2 separate regions of the Homo sapiens genome follow, and region 2 is linked to region 1. Evidence: promoter capture Hi-C in 16 types of primary human blood cells and fetal thymus (Javierre and others, 2016). All regions are on one chromosome and are shown on one strand. Each heading gives the region's core, a stretch centred on a gene start or on the middle of the fragment in contact. The rest is flanking DNA. Distances are from core to core; before and after follow the strand shown. Region 1 holds the start of SPRR2F (small proline rich protein 2F). Region 2 holds the start of SPRR2G (small proline rich protein 2G).

Region 1 (5,347 bases), core at 1,437-3,936:
TACTGGGTATATACCCAAAGGATTATAAATCACTCTACTGTAAAGACACATGCACACGTATGTTTATTGTGGCACTATTCACAATAGCAAAGACTTGGAACCAACCCAAATGCCCATCAATGATAGACTGGATAAAGAAAATGTGGCACATATACACCATGGAATACTATGCAGCCATAAAAGAGGATGAGTTCGTGTCCTTTGCAGGGAGATGGATGAAGGTGGAAACCATCGTTCTCAGCAAACTAACACAAGAACAGAAAACCAAACACCGCATGTTCTCACTCATAAGTGGGAGTTGAACAATGAGAACCCATGGACACAGGGAGGGGAATATCACACACTGGGGCCTGTTGGGGAGTGAGGGGCTATGGGAGGGATAGCATTAAGAGAAATACCTAATATAGATAATGGGTTAATGTGTTCGGCAAACAACCATGGCACATGTATACCTATGTAACAAACCTACACGTTCTGCACATGTACCCCAGAACTTAAAGTATAATAAAAAATTTTTAAAAAGGAGTAAGTTTTAATATTTGATAGCAGAGTAGGGTGACTACAGTTTACAACAACATATTGTATTTTTCAAAATAGCTAGAAGAGAGGAATTAAAATGTTTCCAACAAAGAAAGAAATGATAAATGCTCAAGGTAATGAATGCCCTAAATTTCCTAATATCATGACTTTATCATTATACATTTGATCCATGTAACAAAATATCACATGTACCCCAAAATGTGTATAGGTATTAAGAATCAATAAAAAATAGCAAAGAGAGTCTTCTTATTTTCTATATTAGTTACAACCAAGCCATTCTATTGCTGGAACAAATATGGTAGTGGTTGTCGTGGGGAGTGATGATGATGATGATCTTGATGATCATGATGATGATGATGATGATAATCATAATGGTGGAAACGATGATGATATGTTGCTGCGAATAAACCTCTATCAAATGACAGCTAATCATGTGTTAGGCATTGTGCCATTAAAATTTCAGATAGTAATTCAATTTTATGCCTTAGACAAGTTTGTTAAGTAAATGTTATTTTGCTCACTTTGCAGTAAAGAGATTGACATTCAGAGAAGTTGAATAATATGTTCCTCAAATCAATCAAACACTAATTAAGGAAAATAAAAATAAAAAAATACAGAAATAATCTTTGATATGTCCCAAATTGTGAGATCCTGTCTGTGGATGAAAGAAAAGTGGAAATATACCCAAATGATTATAAAATATTGCTAATAAAGCATATTTGAAAAGAAACAAAAGATCCATTCACAAATATATATGCATAGATTCTTTATTCAGGGAGTGAAAGGAAAGTGACAACTGCACAGGTGGTGGAAGCTCATGCCCAGGGGACAGACAGACACAGAAAACATCAACAGAATTCTCTAATGGTTCCCAGGGAGAGAGCTGCTCTTTCTTCTGAAGCTCTGGGAGCTGGCACAGCCCAGGACTTCCTTTGCTCAGTCTCCACCTGGACAGTGGCAGTATGGCAGCCTCAAAAAGAAAACCTTTTGCTATCAGAGATCATCACAGGCCGATCACAGGCTAAGAGGAAAGAAGCTCCCTGTGTATCCCTGGATGGCTTTGATGAGAAGATGCAGGTGGAGCTGTGGAACGAGGTGAGCCAATTATCCTTATCCTTTCATGCTCCTGATGAATCCTGAAGCTGTTACTTGCTCTTGGGTGGACACTTTGGCTGGCAGGGTGGGGAAGGTGTCACAGGAGGACATTTCTGCTGGCACTGCTGAGGTGGGCAGGACTGTGGACACTTTGATGGTGGGCAGGGCTCAGGGCACTTCGGGGGTGGACATGGCTCTGGGCACTTTGGCGCGGGGCACACAGGAGGTGGCTGGCAGGGCTGCTTGCACTGCTGCTGTTGATAAGACATCCTGCTGGAGTCTCAGAATCTGAAAGAAATTATATGACAGTGTTCACGGGAAGGGAATCCTCCAGAGAGAGAAGCCAAAGCTTATGTAATACCATGGCATATTATTTCTCCAATCTCCAAGAAATTATTTAAACTCTTAATTCCCTTTTCAAGAGTCCCTGGCTTCTCACTTCCACTTCAGCGAATTACTTCATTGTCCCTGGGAACTCTTGTGTTTTCTCATATAATTTTTCCAAAGAAAATATCTCTGTAGTAAACAACCAAGCATGTTATTTCTATGAAAATAACATCTTCAAGAAAGGCAGTCACAAGTTCAGATACCCAGGGCTATCTCACAAGCTATTCCTGTTATCATTATCTGTTGTAAAATCCCAGTGGGTTGACATAGGCACACAGAAAACGACTGTTTGGGAAGAATTGCATGCTCTCACACCTGCTACGACATAAACCTTTGAAAAGGACACCAGAAAAGCAGAGAAAAAAAGAAAAATACTTTGTTATTTTTTCTTCTTCAAATCAAAGCTTTCCCCTTAACTAACTTCTCTGTCCATATGAACACCTAACTCTGTACTAAAAGAAAGCTAAAATAGCATATCATTGTGCTCTAATCCTAAATTTCCATCCACTAAGTAGCATCAAATCAACATTCATAGGATTGGATCAACCAAACTTGCTGTATTCAGATTAAATTCAACATTTCAGGGCACAAAGAACAGAGGAACTCCAGGAAGCCGACTCACCAGGTTCTCCAAGGCAGATCGGTGCTTAGGTACCAGGAGTTTAGGAGTCGTGCAGCAGAAAACCTCTTTATAGGGCCTGCTACCCCTCCCAGCAGAAAGTGTAACTGCCAAAAGCTACACTTATCCAGTAATTTCTTAAGCCAAATGCAAATTTATCCACAACTGGCCTGACAGTGATTATCAAACTAGGAAATATCCTGTTCTGGGATCTCCCCACTGGGTTAAGTGCTCCTGACTCACAGAGGCCCTGCCTTAGATCTCAGTTTCAGTGACCTATGGCAAAGAGGGACTTGGGGGATTCTCTAACTGGTGGTCAAGGGCTCTCTTTTTTGACTGGGGGCAATGATCCTTTCCTGTCTTACACCTTCCCTAAATCATAAAACTTCCTGTCCTGATCCACTTTACTGAATGCCATATTGTTGTACATGAACCCATCTCCACCTCTACTTTCCTTGTACAATTTGCCAATGCGCTAAAAGGAAGGAGAGACCTAACAAAGGCCTGGGTTCTGGTCCCAGATTTTTTTTTTTTTTTTTTTTTTTTTTTTTTGTTGCTAAGTTGTGTGACCACAGGCAGGTCACCTCTCCTCCCTGTGATTATAAGCAGGGGAGAATCATACTTACCTCTGGAGATGGGAGCTGACCGCATTGTGCCATCTGCTGACCCTGTTCAAGCCAGAAACTTTCTCCTCCACTTCTATCTTTCTCTCTCATAGAACCCTGGATTTTACGATTTTCCTTTCCTCTTTGAAGCTGTCTTCTCCACCCAATTTGTACAGGCAATTGTCACCTGGGACAGATTCCAGAGTGACAGCCAGTCTCCCCAGCACATTTGCTACTTGCTGCCATTAAGGATGTATACTAGCGCCTTTTTATTTATAAAAATGTATTCTTTGCTACCACATTAAGGAAACGGAGAGACATGAAACAAAATTACAAGCATTCATTCAAAATCTATGTATTGAACCATGCCTATATGATTCCCTGAAACCACCCTATAGAGCACAATCTGCATAGACTCACATTATCATATGTGAATAATTAGAAGTAGGTTTGCAGAGTGGAGATGGTCAGCGCACCTAAAGTCTGAAATCTGGGGGAAAATACAAATTAAGTATAATCTAATATGTATTCTTCCCCTCTGTTTCTAAACAGGTTTTAGGTGTTTCTCAGTGTTTTTTAATTTGTTTGCATGTTCTTTCTCTGTCTTTTCCATAAGCCCCCTAGTCTCATGACCTGCTAGATTATCAAGTCACACCCCAATGTACACCTCTCATCTATTCATTTTGGTACATATTGTTCACTCAACATATATATTGTCAATGCATATAGTGACTCCTCTTTCATATCTTTTGTAAACTCTTCCAGCAATTAGTGAGGCTTACTAAACATGGTATATTAAATATTTAAGTTGATGTTGCTAGAGCTTCCTTAGACCAGTAGTCAGAAAGCTTTCCAAGAATGTGGTTTATAGTTGGAGAAGAAGAAAGGAAAATGAGGAAGAGGAAGAGGAAAGACTCAAAATCATTGGAGCAGTCACCAGCTATGCTCCAGGAAGGGTAGGAGTGCTGAATCAACCCAGCATCACATCCCTCAGTTAAGCAGGTTAGGTTCCCAGAGCTGCCATTGCTCCCGTCAATAAGGAAGGGCTTTGGGGCAAGATCACTACTGGCCAGGACAGTACAGAAATAAAGACATCACGTCAGCACCTTAAGGCCAGGTATTTACAAATGGTGTTCTCACCAAATTACCCCTACAGACTATTACGCATGCTAAGCACATCAGGGGACAAAGTAAAGGGCCTTTATTCAATAGGTCACTTACTACTCCCCAACAGCCTCACATCACATCTAAAACACAAATCCTTAGAGAAATGTCTGATTTCTAACATGCAAAATTGGAGAATTGGCTGCCAAATGAGATCACTGTGTAAGATAATACAGTTTGAGTCATGCCCTGAGACTCCCCTTCTGAGAACACCCCACTCAAACAGGCTGTTTATCACAGCAGTGCAGGCACCAGAGTGGCAGCAGCCCTAGTGCCCCCAGCATCTCAGACAGGCTCACTTTACAAGTGAACTTGAAATTCAGAGTTTCTCACAGACCAGCTACATGAGGAATGGCCACAACATGAAGAGGGGCAGCTAACAGTCACAGCTTCCCCAAGTTAGGACATCCAGGCCCTGAGACATGCAGCAAGGCATACTTTACACACACACACATACCCACCATGGGTGTGTGTCTATCTATCTATCTATCTATCTTCTATCTATCTAATGTGTCATCTATCTATCCATCTACCTTTCTATTATCTCTCCACATATATAAAGAAGTTAGCTTTATGTTCTTTAACAGTCTGATAGCCTTAGGTCCATTTCTCCTACTTTTACTCCATAATTTTTGAAGGGATTATTAAGTTTAAATCATTACTACATAAAAATGACAAGAAAGAACAAAAGCTTTTGAACTTTTGTGTTATTCTTGATTCAACTTCTATCTCACATTTTACTACTATGCATTTTACACCATTAAACAAAATAGTCCTGGCAAATTAATATTCTGCCATCAAACATGCAAGAAGAAACAGGAATTGTGGGAAGATTTTCCTAGCCTTAAATAAATCACTCTAAGTCTCTGTGAATTTCTGCTTCTGTTTTATTCCTGAATATAGGCTTACATTCCATCATTATTCCATAATTTTGCTT
Region 2 (5,347 bases), core at 1,176-3,675, 37 kb after region 1:
GCAGTCCCTCTTAGCAAAAGAGTTTTAATTAATTCCTCAGTTCTTTTCAACTTTTAAAAAAATATGTTTGAAATACCCTATGTACTTCTGGTTGAAATGCTATGCAAAAGTAATTATATACAATTGTTGAGTTATGTACAATAAAATTTCAAGACTTTGACCATCCTAAGATGGCTGTCAAACTTCAAGTATATATCGAAATCATGACTGTATCCTAGAGATCCAACCTCTCTGACCTCATTTGCAGACATTTCTCCTTGACCACCATTTTCCTTTTTGTTATTTTGTATTTCTTTTTTTTTTTTTTTTTTTTTTTTTTTTGAGACAGAGTCTCGCTCTGTCGCCCATGCTGGAGTCCAGTGGCACGATCTCGGCTCACTGCAAGCCCGCCTCTCGGATTCACGCCATTCTCCTGCCTCAGCCTCCCGAGTAGCTGGGACTACAGGCGCCCACCACCACGCCCGGCTAATGTTATTTTGTATTTCTTTAGCACTGGCCATTTCTTCCAACAGGAACAATCTACCCCTGATATACCCATGGCTCCCTCTTCTATTCATTCATGTCTTTGAGCCAAAAGTCACTTCAAAGGGTCTTTCTAAATAATTTTCTTTAAATATAGCCCATGTATTACTATAATTTGTCCTGTGTGTGGGAGGTGTGTGGGGGTCGGGGGGTGGGGGTGATATGTAACTCTCTTAAGACTGTAGACTCTATAAGAGCAAGGACTTTGTTTGGTCATCATTATCCCTATCAGCAGTGCATAGAAGACTGGCTGGCACATGATAGACAATTAGGAAACATTTGTGAATAAATCAATTGCTATGAGTACACTCAGCTGAATACATGCTCTCTTACTTTTTACAGATGATGAAACTGAAGCTAAGAGAGTTTAGGTAATTTTTTCAGCCATACAAGCTAGAAGGGGTAAAAATGAGTTTTAAACCAATAAAAGAGAATTATTTGTTGTACCGAATCCAAAACACACATTGCACGCAACACTGAATTCAGTGATGGAAAAGCCTAATAATTCTAATAATTCAATAGGAATGAAAAGGAACATTCACTTGGTGTAGTTAACAGAAGAGGTTAAAGACACGAAATGCAAACAAAAGCAATGTGGGCTTGACCATGAAACATGTGCTTTATTGGGGAGAAGCAAAAGAATAAACACACTTGCTCTCAGGATAGGAACCACCATCTACATCACAGACAGCAAAGCGAGATTAGGCAGTGATCTGGCTGCTCATCTTCCAACAACATATCGGTTTTCAGAACTAAGCCTTTTCTCTGTCAACGCTCAAGCCAGACAGAGGTTAGGGAAGATGCAGCCTCCCACTACAGCTGAAGGGAAGATGATGGAGTCCTGGGAGTAAGAAGAGCCACTGGATCTTGTTGTTTCATGGTCCTGATGAATTCTAGTGATGTTACTTGCTCTTGGGTGGATACTTCTGCTGGCAGGGTGGGTATGGTTGCACAGGAGGGCATTTATCCTGGCATGGTGGAGGTGGGCAATGCTCAGGTGGACAAGGAGGAGGCAGGTAAGGCTCAGGGCACTTCGGGGGTGGACATGGCTCTGGGCACTTTGGCGTGGGGCACACAGGAGGTGGCTGGCAGGGCTGCTTGCACTGCTGCTGCTGGTAAGACATCTCTCCTCAGTCTCAGAGAATCTGAAAGATACATACGAAACAGTGCTCATAAGAGAGACAGTCCTGTTGGTGGAGCAATTAGCTAGGACATCAAATCTCCAGTATCTAGGGACCAACTTTGATCCCTAATACAGTCTTTATGACTTTGTGAACCTTCTTCACACTTCACTTTTAGGACCTCTTACCCTCAGTTCTTCCGTCTTTCTGGCTGTTCTCTCATTCTACCATTTTCTGAAAATAAAATTGCCTATGAGACAGCAACAAATGTTGTCTGAATACAAACACTATCTGAAGAAGAAAAACTCAGATATTAAAAGTCTAGCCAATACCAAACAAATCTGTGCTCTTATCTTCCATGAGGCCCTAGTTACCAGTTTTAATGAGCTGGCTGTGGTGCTGAGCCATGAGTTTTTTAAGAGAATTGCAAAAACTTGCACCCATCACCCAAGGAGATTGCACTCCAAGAGAGATGTATTTGGAACAGATGTGAAGCAGGAGACAGAACAGCATCTTGTGTCTCTCACTCTCCTTCAGTTTAAGATTTTATATATTTGACTCCAGGTTCCTCATCACCTTCATGTTTATCTACCAAATACCAGCTAAAATTTACCTTCAAGACCTCATTATCTTCTTTTTCCTATCCATGAGGATAAATTGGTTAAAATAAACAGGCATTTCTGTACCCAGGTTAGACCCTAACACCATCCAAGTGCAAGAAAAGCTTCTAATATTTGTACTCACCAGAGTCTTCAAAGATCTACAACTGAATGGCAAGAAGATAGCATCAGTGTGGTGGAGAGTCCTTTTATAAGGGGCAGGCAGCCCTACACAGGGAACAGCCCAGGACTAGCATGATGTGCTTATTTCCCAACCAAAATACCACTTGCATGTAATCCATGCTGGTATCACAAAATTCCTAGTCCATGATCCTCCCCAGCAGGATAAGTGCACAGTGATTCACTTGGGACATTATCTCAGGTTCCTCATGCCAGTGGCAATTGTAGAACGTGACAAATTGTCTGACAATTGTGGTGCTTCCCTATAATTAGAGATGGTGCTTCTCCTACTTCCCAGCTTCCAAAGTATCCTGTATGTAAAACTACTCCCATTCAGTTGCACATGCCCAGTATCTAGCTGTGTTCTCTTTAGTAGAGACCAGTATGTGCTGATCCTGCAGCCTGGCTATATCCTAACCCTCAACTGCAGTTTTTCTTTACAACTAACTTCCCCTTTTATCATGGCCTATTGATCCTTAGGCTTTTCTTGACAATTAATTGACTTGAACAGGGTGACAAAATCATATATCAGCTTCCTAGATGCTGACAGCCCCAACCTGGGTGTGTTCTGACATGGTATTAATGGGCTTGAACAAGGCAACATCATCTCTCAGTTTTCTAGGCCATTAGAGTCATGTTGGGGCCCCTTCTTAAAGCTTCACATTTGCAGATTTACACACTAACCTCATCTCTGTGGCCCTTGTAACTATGAGTGACTTGTGGTCTACTAGAAATCCAAACTCATCTTCTCCCATTTTCTTCCAAACTGCCTTAATGTATGTGCTGCATCCATTTTGAAGCTTTTCTCCTACATGCTAATTCAATTTACTCCTTCACAATTTCTCTCTTTTGAAATGACATTTAGTAGGATTTCAGGCTTTCTTTGCACATTCGAGGAGTGAAGTTCTGTAAAGCTATTTATCCTGCTGTTTACTTCATGGATGTTTTTACCTAAATAAGTAAAGTATAGCTGGCACAGATCCCACGGATAATTTCTTAGTATAGCTTATTTAACCATATTAACACTTCAGCTAGTATTACTCACTGTCCCAACTTGGAAAAAACTTGAGTACCTTGGTTATGCATACATCTACAGCCACCACTACTGTGTGGAACTAAATATTTCCTAACCTCCTTGAAACACAGTTTACACAGCTGTAAAACAGAAATAAAAAATACACCTACCACAAAAGTCTCCTACAAAAACTCAAAGAGTGGCCTAAAATTATGCACATTACATAGTGGGTCTTCTAAGAAATATAAACTCTAAAATGTAGAAGAAATAAGAATAATAACTAATCATAACTAACCAATAATTTCAAACATGTCAAAAACAGATAATAAAGAATGGCATTGTTTAGAGTGAGGCCTATCTAGTGAAGATCCTTTCCCTGCATCCCCCATTCTTCTAGCTGTAGTCACTACTAATTAGACGGCATGGGTACCATAGCACCTACAGGGTCGGCACCTTGTTTTCCTGAGAAAGCCCCTCTCAGGGAAGATTTTTGCCTTGTGCTCTTTACCCAGAAGAATGCTGTGTTGTATCTGCAATGTTTCAAACTTGATTGGGTTGGTACAGTAGAGAAACAAAAAAAACTGAGGACCTAACATGGGAATTTGAAGAGGTAGGAACGTCTTTGAGTTGAGCCCTACTATTAAATTCTTTCTCAGCATCTCAGAGGAACAACATGAGGCTAGTTATCCCTCCCTAGTACTCTGAAACTAAACAATTTAGTCATCTAAGTTACTATCAGGAAACTGACACACTTCAGGGATGCCAGAAGGAACAGGGATGCTCCTGGGATGGGTGAGGCACTTTCACAGCGTTCTTTCTCATGTTGAAATCCTAGGAACCATAGCTGATGCATGCTGAAGAATTAGCTAAGGATTACGTGACTTAAAACAGTTCTATCAACACAATTTTAGACCTACTTTTCTTTGCCTCATGAATTACTAATAGATTCCAAAGTTATTTTTACCAATAAATTATTTGGTTTATCATTTATGCTTGATAAACTGAAGGAGGATTGGGCTTTTCAGAAAAGAATGCTTAATGAGGTTTGCCAGCTTCACAAAGGACAGTTTTTTTATAGAGAGAGAAAATAGCTAAAGGACAGATGATCCTCATTTTTCACAAATAATGGGCACTTGAAGCACTCTGTGCAAATTAAACCTCTGAAACTCACATAGTATCTACATGAGGGTTTGCTGGAGTTTACTTATAAACTAGTAACCGTGGTTATCTCAGGAGAATAGTTAAGTATCTAGGGAATAGGAGTGGGGGAGAGACTAACTTTTCACTGCATGACCATTTTCTTCTCTTTTGAATTTTGGTATCATGTATATTTTTTGCTTATTCAAAGTGTTTAAATATTTAAATGTTCAAAGATATTTTAAAATTGAAATAAATAAATCTGTGAGTAAATACTATGTTAGCAAACTGGCACTGTATAAACACAATGATTGAGTTAAGTCCTAATTAGGTGTGTAAATTTGAGCAATTTTCTTAACATTTCTGCAATTTTCAGTTTCTTCATTGAGAAATGGTAATAATAATACTTCTCTGACGGACATTTTTGTAAGGTGCAAATAAAATAAATAGTAAGCCTAGTAAAACAACCGTGTAAAGCTGGGAATTATGAGGCTGAATTACCTGGTCCCAAAGTTCCTGATTTGCCTAAAGATTTTGAAAAGAAGGACAAAGCTATTTTATGGGAGTCCCAGAAATGAAGAAACGAAGGAAGGTAGAGAGGGTAGAAGACAGGCGAGTGGAAAGAAGAGGAAAGGGGAAAGAGAGAGAGGATGACATTTCCCAAGGGCCATTTGATTTTACTTGATTTAACATTTATAGCCTAGTTCTTTAAGCTCCCAATAAAATTATTTCTATTTTAATAAATAAAGATATGCTGCTACTACATAATATGC

What was found. Contacts are between HindIII fragments. The CHiCAGO score rates a contact against its expected background, and 5 or more counts as called.
Region 2: the fragment with the promoter of SPRR2G here is called in contact with the fragment with the promoter of SPRR2F in region 1 in 1 of 17 cell types (naive CD4 T cells); the score reaches 5.2 in naive CD4 T cells.

What each region holds. Positions count from the first base shown.
Region 1 is chr1:153,110,830-153,116,176 of GRCh38, forward strand. SPRR2F (small proline rich protein 2F) reads right to left here and starts at 2,687. Exons shown (of 2, transcript NM_001014450.3): 1 at 2,645-2,687; 2 at 1,292-1,923. The coding sequence starts at 1,904. The coding sequence ends at 1,686. The HindIII fragment of the contact is 1,668 bases long and covers 2,425-4,092 here.
Region 2 is chr1:153,148,465-153,153,811 of GRCh38, forward strand. SPRR2G (small proline rich protein 2G) reads right to left here and starts at 2,426. Exons shown (of 2, transcript NM_001014291.4): 1 at 2,388-2,426; 2 at 1,118-1,667. The coding sequence starts at 1,646. The coding sequence ends at 1,425. The HindIII fragment of the contact is 711 bases long and covers 2,366-3,076 here.